Linked DNA regions of Homo sapiens: region 1 is linked to region 2. Evidence: promoter capture Hi-C in 16 types of primary human blood cells and fetal thymus (Javierre and others, 2016). All regions are on one chromosome and are shown on one strand. Each heading gives the region's core, a stretch centred on a gene start or on the middle of the fragment in contact. The rest is flanking DNA. Distances are from core to core; before and after follow the strand shown.

What was found. Contacts are between HindIII fragments. The CHiCAGO score rates a contact against its expected background, and 5 or more counts as called.
Region 1: a fragment that was not itself captured here is called in contact with the fragment with the promoter of FAT4 in region 2 in 2 of 17 cell types (megakaryocytes and endothelial precursors); the score reaches 5.1 in megakaryocytes.

Annotation. Positions count from the first base shown.
Region 1 is chr4:125,699,799-125,704,443 of GRCh38, forward strand. No RefSeq gene overlaps it. Among named protein-coding and RNA genes, the nearest start is that of MIR2054, 190 kb to the left of the region's middle. The HindIII fragment of the contact is 1,561 bases long and covers 522-2,082 here.
Region 2 is chr4:125,311,999-125,316,991 of GRCh38, forward strand. It overlaps FAT4 (FAT atypical cadherin 4), which reads left to right and starts at 2,957. Exons shown (of 18, transcript NM_001291303.3): 1 at 2,957-3,979; 2 at 4,402-4,993. The coding sequence starts at 4,414. The HindIII fragment of the contact is 5,556 bases long and covers 1,914-4,993 here.

The DNA.
Region 1 (4,645 bases), core at 52-2,551, 390 kb after region 2:
ACCTTTGATTTACCTGGATTTATATTTCCTTGGTTATTTGGCATGTCCTTTCCCTAATTCTCTATCTAAAGTATAATCTTCACCAGTGCTAATCACCCACTGTGGGTATTTCATCATCAATTTATCATTATTAAATTGTTAGGACTGTAAAAGATTTTTAAAATTCTTTTGTCCATAATATATTCAGATTTGAAGACCATTAGCAAATAATTGTCTGGTTGTATGCTTTGTACACCTGTATAGTCTGTATACCAAAAGCTTCTTTGTTTTTTTTTTTTTTTGAGACCGAATTTTGCTCTTGTTGCCCAGGCTGGAGTGCAATGACGTGATCTTGGCTCACCGCAACCTCCACCTCCCGGGTTCAAGCGATTCTCTTGCCTCAGCCTCCAGAGTAGCTGAGATTACAGGCATACGCCACCATGCCTGGCTAATTTTTTTGTATTTTTAGTAGAGACAGGATTTCTCCATGTTGGTCAGGCTGGTCTTGAACTCCCGACCTCAGGTGATCCGCCCGCCCCAAAAGCTTCTTAAAATTTTATTATACATTTTATGATTATCTTATCAAGAGAAAGGAATTATTTATTCACTCTTTAAGTCTGATCTGGGTTGCCTTCATTAAAATACTGTGAGAGAAGCTATGGAGTTATAGTTCCCGGTCTATCAAGAAAACTTGCATGCTTCCAACTCATTTTTTTTTTTGGAATGCTACCACCAACATGTAAATAAGCACAGGGTCACCTGCTTGAGGAAGAGAGGCCCATTACTCAGCCATTCCTGCCATCCCAGCCAACAGCCAGCCAACTAAGAGATATGTGAAAGAGGTCATTCTAGACCATCCCATCTACCCTTCACCCAATCTATAAGTTAATTTCAGGCACATGAGCAAGCATAGGCAGGAGAAGTGGTATTATCCAGGTGACCCACAGACTTAGGAGCAATAATAAATGCTTATTTATTTAGGCCACAGAGTTTTGTGTTTATTTCTTATACTGAAAGAGGTAACTAATATAGGAATTGATGCATAGAACTAGAGTGCCACTGACCTAAAATGTGAGACTCTGGTTTGAGAGTGAAGCAGCAAGCAGGCAATGGGAAACATGGTGAGCAAATATTTAGTAGAAACTGGAGAAACGGTGAGAGCTTGCAATTAGAGTCTGGGAAAATAGAGCCTCATGTTACAAAATAACAAACAATAGGCACGACTATACCAATATACATGTTTCTAATAAACTTTTGGACTTTGGCAAAATGATTTTCAGACAAAAAGTTGAAAGTAGATGTTTACTTCTTTTAGCTGCATATGGTAAATGCTGCATATAGTAAATGCAGCTGCTATATGCAGACCATATAGTAAATATTTTTTGCTTTGTGACTTTACTGTCTCTTTCTCAACTATTGAAATTTCCTGTCCTAAATGCAGAAACAGCCAGGGCCAACATGTAAATAAATAAGTGTAGCTGTGTTTCAAAAAAATATTTATGGACATTAGCATTTGAATATAAAATAATTTGCATGCACTACAAAATATTATCCTTCTTTTGATTTTTAAATCATTAAAAATGTAGAAAACAGTAACAGTTCACAGCCCATAGTTAAACAGGTAGTAAGCTGAATTTGTCCTGCAGGCTTAGCTTGAAAACTTTGAGCTAGACAAAGAACTTGCTAGTTTTCAAGGAGAATTTAAAGGAATATAAATAAATAAAATTATTTCTCATCTTCCATCTTCTCAAACAATAAGAGTTCTAACAAAAAAGTTCTGAGGACAAGATCTAATCAAATGTGCCCAGGTTTTGCTTTCAGCTACATTAAAGGGTTTCTAAGAAACTTCAGGTTCTTGTCCCGTAACAGCTTGACATAGACAAAGAATCTGTGAGTAAGAAAGAGACACATGTTTCCCAAATAATGGTGGATTTGGTTGTTAGAATGGACTTGAGTCTGATTCATCAGAGCAAGCCAATGAAGTTTTAAAGTGAGTTATACTTTCAAAAGAACTTGCTTCTCTTAAATCCTGCTCAGTTACCAGATGAACAAACCCAAACTTGGCATGGGGGAGAACTAAAGCACCATCATGAACATCAAGCAAGCTTCTAGAAGCAGAGCTGCCAAGGTGATTCACAGATAATCACAGGTGATGAGGGAACTCTAGACTGGAACAACTACTCAATTGACTTGTAGACTCGTGAGCAAAAACACATTTATTTTTAGTCCACTAAATTTTGGAACGACTTTTTGTGTAGGAATATCTAGCTGATGCAGAATATTTCATTATTCAATTGTTTGTGTTAGCACATTGTTGGAGAGGGCTTGAGTTGGTAAAACACACAGTATTGAAATATTCCTTATGGCATAATGTATTTGGAATGGAAGCATCTGAGCAGTTATTAATTAGCATTGTATATGCTGCGCACAATGAAGATTAATTTTATCTTCTTAAAATCAAATAATAGTTTAGTTTTTACTAACTAGATGTATGCAGTATACTTTACTGAATTGCTTTTAAGTCTAATCCGGTGGAGCAAGGCTCATCAGTGAAACTAGGCCAAGTGTACAGTGTATAGTTTTCCAGATCATGAGATCTGCATTCTCATTTTCACAAAAGAATCTATATATTGCTTTTTATTATTGAGTTATAGGTCTCAGAATACTGTTCAAGCAAAATAATCAAGAGGCCATTAGCCTGGGGTTGTTATCTGTACCAGGAGTTCTTTTCTAAGAAAACAGAAACTTAACTTGGAAACATTTTTTGTAACTGACTTAAGAAAAAAATGTGCCTCAGCCATTCACAAACAGCCAACCAGCTCTTGGTCTGATCATTCATCAGATGTAACCAAATAGGCAAATGCTTCATCACAGCTCACCAAAATGCCTAGCTGTAGCCAATCAGGTAATTACTTTGTTTCCTTTATTGGTCTATAAAAGCTCCCTGCTCACTTTGTGAAGCAGAACTTTCTGGACCTCCTCTGGTTCTGAATGCTGTCCATTCATGAATTGTTCTTTGCTCAAATAAACTGTGTTACATTTAATTTGTCTGAAGTTTTTCTTTTAAGAGTGCTTTTGAATGTCGATGTCTATATGCTTTGCTTAATCACATTTATTTTTACCCTAAAACATAAATTGAAGAACAATGCAAAACATACACACACCCAAAACAAAGATACATGCAACTATTTTGGTATTTAAGAGTAGGTAGGACATGCACTGAAACAAAAAAATCTCTGAGGAGGGTAAACTTAATATTCAGTCTGCATGATTACAGCAGCTCTGGAGGGATATGGCTCATACAGTTTTCACACACATTGTAAAACACAACATTTTCAGACACTATTAATTTTGTAGCTAAAATCTGTGAGAAGAAAATCAGTGTTGACTCAACATGTCAATTAAACAATCTCTAATTGAACTTTAGTCCATTCTTACCCTTATTTTCATTGCTGATGAGAGAGAGAGAGAGAGGGAAGCTTATATTCCATTTGCTCATAAAATACCCAGTGCAAGAATATCATTGTCTGTACCTACGGGTCCTTTAAAATCACTGTCAACAGCAGAAGAGAAGTGTAACTTTCTTAGATATTTGGTTAGCCTGTGGGTTTCTGTAAAATTTAAACTGTTTCTCTAAAATAAGCAGAACCAATGAAAAGGAAAAGGAATTTGTTTTAAATGATCAAACTGGAAAAATGACCAGAAAACCCCTCTGGCCATTTTCTTCTTTTAGTTCTATGTTCTTCTAACCATCATTTATGGGCCACTTGAGACACGAAGGAAAGGATGTTAAAGGCCCTGGAGATAATGTAGCTGCATTAGCAAAGTACCAGAACACATGTAAAAGGCTTGTAAAGCATTTGGCACTACAGCTCTGACATATAAACTGTGCTACAATTGTCTTCATTTCCTCTTGTCTCTGACTCATTCATGGTTTCTTATTCTGATGATAGAAATGCTGACCTGAAGGAAAATTATAAAATGTTCTAACATGGAAACTTATGCACTTCAAAATAATTGCAGTAGGTAAAATTTAAAAATGGGAAAATAAGCATACTGTATGTATCTTCATTGAAGTTACTACACATAATGTTTTATTATGGCTTCTATAATAAATTACTTTACCCTTGATTATGACTTTTACACATTACTATGAATTCCTTTCTGCAATCCAGAGAATAACATGCAATAATGATTAAAAGATGTGTCAAGGAATACTTCACTTGGTAATTTTAAGAAGTGTTGAAAAATTGGCTAGTAGAAAATTTATCACGATTGATATTGTCCTGTGTGAATGAAGTTTAAACAGATTATTATTAATGTAAACTGAATTTTGATATACTCAGTCTTCATCAACATTAAATAACTTTATTAAGAAAAAGTCATGCAAAATTGTGAGGAATAATAAAAAAGGAAAAGGAAAAGAGAAAGAACAACAAATGAAATGAAAGAAACTAAGGGAATAATTAGAAAACAAAATTGAGGTATGAACTTTACTTTTGTAAAATGAAGATATGATAGAAAATCATACCAGCAGGGAGCATTATATCATGGATGATTAACTTTGCTACACTCAACATTTCTCTATAATCTACGTACTTTCCCCCAATGTTACTTGAACAAGTATTAGAATATGAATACAGTTAATTCTGGAATATTGAGGTTA
Region 2 (4,993 bases), core at 1,707-4,206:
TTTAACGTATGTTCTAAGGTTCAAATGAGGTATTCTCTGGTTTCTTTCATATTTGGACATAAAAATATGTCCCCCACAGTCTATTAACATCGGGGAATATCTTCCTCTTCAGAACTTTATTAAAAGCTTTGACTAAACAACACTTCTCACACAAGCCTTTGGTAGAAAAGCACAGATAAACTTAACTTTTTTTTTTTGAAAGGCAATTAATTAAAGAAAATGTACAATGAGAAATGATTCTTACACTAACTGTTTATTAATGTGTTCCATTATAATATCTACCTAGTAATGTATTCCATGGCTTTTTTGCATATTTCATGCATACAATGATCTCTATATGTCTTTACTTTCTTTCATTTACTTTTGGAGAGGGATCCATATTATTTATCATGCATGATTTACTTTTTGGGAGGGCATCCATTTTTTAACATGCATGATATTACAGGTTGAAATGCAAAAGAGAAAAGTAACAACAAAATACCTTTGTCTTTTATTAAAACCATGCTCTATATCTTACCTTAAATTGTGTACCTATCTATACATAGATTGTAAATTCATGTATAGGTTTTATCTATAAATGAATATGTTACTTTAAAGTAGTCATCATGCGAAAAGTTTCTACTTGTTAAAATAACCACACTATTGGCTAAATAATTTTCGATAATCCTCTTTTGAAATTGTCCAAAAAATTTTTATGTACTCTATCTCTCTATATATTTTCTGTATTAGTTTATTTTGCCATATCTTGTTTTGTAAAACTAAAATGTATACATATTGCACTGATTGAATACTTTCCATTTCACAGAATGAATGATCTTCACCTGTTTCCCAAATTAAATTCACTCATATATAATGCAAATGTAATACTATTGACACTAAATCTGAAGATTATCCCACAGGCAAAAAAAAACAAGCAAACCAACAAAAGTCCATGATCTCCTACAACAAGTATCTGAATGATTTCTTTCTGTTTATTTCTCTATAAATACTTGAATAATAGTGCATTAGGAAACAAAATAAAACAAAACAGTAATATTCTCTTAAAATCACACAGACATGATTTGTAAAAATTTGTAAAAATTTGTTTGCCACTTTAGTTAATCTACAAATATTTTTTGGCTAAATTATACCAAAAATAATGGTGTTAGGATTGTAACTTAAGAAAAATACGATTTTTGAAAAACAGGCTTAAATGTCTCTAAAAAGTCTAGAGTCTAATGTTTTCAAGTTTTAAAATACATAAATGGTTAAATTTAACTTTTTTGTCTGTTTCCAGTTAACTCATTACATTACAGTAGAGGAATATGTAGAAGTTAGCTTTTTAACCTAAACAGAGGAATTGGTGATAGCTTTAGAAATCATGTTTCCATAAATCAGTTTTGAGTTACAGGCTGCCTGCATCATCAAGACTTGAATTTGCTGTCTGTCCTACTATTCTTGATTTTTTTTTTTTTACTCTAAATAAGAAAGGCACTAGGAAAGTCTTAGAGATCGTTTTCTTTGCTGCTATCCCTAGGCAAGAAGCAGGAATTAGCCTTGTAATCCGATCCTTTTAGTCTCTGCATTTAATTTTAAGCAAGAAACCAGGAGACTAAAGATGTAAGACTGACGTAGAACAGCAGAGGGCAGTATTTACTCATGACTGAACCCTCTCTGGGCGCAGAAAGTTTTACGTTTGTGAGGGATCCTTGTGGCAGAAATGTATGACATATGCCCTGTATTTGCATTGTTTGGCTTGAATTCTTATTTTCTAGGTTGGTTCCCTTAAAGGGGAAAAATATCGATCTGATTCCTAGTAACGTTTTTCTTCTTTTAAAGAAACGATGCATGCCACCACAAAAATTAACTGCAGTGAATAGTGGGTGAGTTGATCTGAGTGCATTAAGTGGCATGTGGGTATTTTTAAAAACTTAAGCTTAAATATTATTTTATTTATTTCTACTTTCTCGTATCTATTTCTCCCAGACTGAAAAGCAAAATAAAACTTTATTAGGTTTCCTTTGACTAAAAAATGTGGAGGTGGAAATACTCCATCAGGGATCAAAATTCCAAACTAACTTTGCAACAGGAAAAGATCTCCCTCTTTTCAAAGGGCTGCCATTATTATTGTTGTTGAAACCCTAAGGTTTGGGCTACTGGCACCTGGAATCCAGTTGGGAAAGAAAACAAAACAAACACTGAGTTCCCCTGGCCTTTCCTATAGTAGGAAGTCCAAAGTGCCCTTGCTACGGAGGCCTCCTGCCCCCTAGTCACCTGGAAGGTGGGGGAGAGGGGCAAGTGAGTGAAGATTTAGAGTTTAGCTCGCCCTAGACAGCAGGGAGCCCACTGTGTAGAAAGAGGAGCAAAGGGGAGGATTTGATTTGGATTCTGTGGGATCACACTGTATGGCAGCTCTATCCCTTGCATAAAGAGAGAAGGGGCAGGAAATGGTTAAAGCAAATCTGCACTGTGCATTCCCAGACAGGCTTTGCTTAATCCTTCCTCCCCGCTTTAACAGACCCTCACCCCCCGCCTTTCTTTTATTTCTCTCGACCCCCTTACCCCTGAGTTATTACTAGCATAACAACCTAACGGTCTTCCCCCAGACCCTGCCACTAAAGTTATTTATCTGCAAACCTGACCCCACCCCCATCTATTCTGCGGCAGCCTTTTGCTGTTATTGCTCTGACGCCGGCCAAGATTTGGCCGAAAAGGAAAAAAAAAAAAAAAAAAGAAAAGAAAAAAAATCACCCCCCTTTTTAGCGCCTCCGCCTCGCTGTGCTCCCACACCAGACCGCCTACAGCCCTCCGGGAGGCTGAAGTGATTAGCATCCCGAGAAGCCAGTCGGAGGCCGGGCAAGGCGGAGGGCGCTCGCGGTAGGAGTGCCGGTCGGGGCTGCTTCAGCTCCGGCCCAATGGGGCTGGGGCGAGGGAGGGGCAGAAGGTGACAGGACTGGGAGCTAGGGGGAGTCCAGGCGAACTAAAGTGCGGGGATCAATGAGTGTCGAGCAAAGTTTCTGAGTGCTGCTCCAGCTCGCGGTCTTCCCTCCCCCTCTGTTTGTGTTTCGGCGACGCGCTGTGTGTGTGTGTGTGCGTGTGTATGTGTGTGTGTGTGCATGCCTGTGCGGCGGGGAAGGGGCGGGGAGAGTGTGAGGGACCAGGCGGGAGGTGGAGAAGGGCTCGCGGAGCCCTAGCTCCACCGCAGTCCAACCTTCGGCCCCGGCCGGCGAGAGGGAGAGCGCTGACAGGCGCCGTCCGGAGCTGCGGAGGGCGTCACTACAGCCCAGCGCCGACTTCGCCGCCTCCGCTGCCAACTGTGAAGGAGAGAGAGGCATCAACCACCCCCCGCCCCAAACAAAAAGCCTTGTGGATTACAAAGTGAAACTGACACGGGACAATAAAAGCAGAGATAGCGAGGGCAGGGGCGAGGCGCGCTAGAGTGGGCTTCTGACTGGGGCCGCCGGAGAACGACCCCCCCTGGCATGGTGAGGGGAGGGCGACTCGGGGACCGCACGCTGTTTCTGCCCGACCCCTGCGAGGCCGAGAAGAAAGGGGAAACTGCGTTCGATTTGGATGTACAAATAATGGGTCGGCAGGCGCCCCGGCAGAGGTGAAAAATGCCGAGGAGCCCTGGCTGTTGTTTGTGCCGGACCACGGGCTTGAAGCCGCAACAGGGGCGGCGGCGGCGGCGGCTGCAGGAGGGGAAGGGGCAGAGTTGAGCGCTCCCGGGTACGGGAGCCAGAGCGCGAACGCTAGCGCTTGGAACGCAGTTCCCGAACTGCCTGCGCGCAGACGCCGCCGCCTGGGCCTCAGCGGCCACTGCCGGCGCCCTGTTGGAGGGGCGTTGCAGCCTGGTTTTTGAGGAGTGGGGACTCCAGGAATTCCATCGCCTCCAGCTTTTGGGAAAGAAATTCGATTCTCCCGGTTCCCCACCACCCCTTCCCCGGTGCGCAGTTGTGCTTGGACGTTTGTTCCTCCCTCTTCACGTTCTTCGCTGCGGGTAAGTTCTAAAGTTTCTGAAGACCGTTCTTTGCAATGATTCCTCATATACCTTAGATACAGGCAACTTCTCCCAACTCTCATCCACCCGGGTGAAAACGCTCAGACTATCTGGATTCAAAAACAAAGTAAAAGGGGGCATATATAAGAGGCTTGAGAAACTTTTCTGGGAACTCAGCTCACAGGAGTGTCCCGCGGAATGCCCTGCCGCTTTTCGCCACAGCATCTCTCTTGCACTCCGCGTTCAACTGGCTACCTAGAGTCTTTTGCTGATGCTACTTGCTTTTGCCGGACTGGAGGTTCTTTGAAATAGCAGAGGTCTCAGACCAAGCCGTCAGCTGAATCTTTGCTGGCGCTCCTTAATCCCTGTAAATATCATTGCGTTTGCTTCACCCCTTCCTTCTCTTTATCACATCGTTTTAGGGAGCCAGGACCATGGACTTAGCACCAGACAGGGCTACTGGCCGCCCGTGGCTCCCGTTGCACACTCTATCAGTATCTCAGCTCCTTCGAGTGTTTTGGCTACTGTCATTGCTTCCGGGGCAGGCCTGGGTCCACGGGGCCGAGCCGCGCCAGGTGTTCCAAGTGCTGGAAGAGCAACCTCCAGGCACTCTGGTAGGCACCATCCAGACGCGCCCCGGCTTCACCTACAGGCTCAGCGAAAGCCACGCCCTGTTTGCCATAAACAGTAGCACCGGAGCCCTGTACACCACCTCCACCATCGACCGCGAGAGCCTGCCCAGCGACGTGATCAACCTGGTGGTCCTTTCCAGCGCGCCCACCTACCCCACCGAAGTGCGAGTGCTGGTGCGGGACCTCAATGACAACGCCCCCGTTTTCCCGGACCCCTCTATCGTGGTCACTTTCAAGGAAGACAGTAGCAGCGGACGCCAAGTCATCTTAGACACCGCCACCGACTCGGACATCGGCTCAAACGGTGTGGACCACCGCTCCTACCGCATCATCCGCGGCAATGAGGCGGGGCGCTTCCGTCTGGACATCACCCTGAACCCGA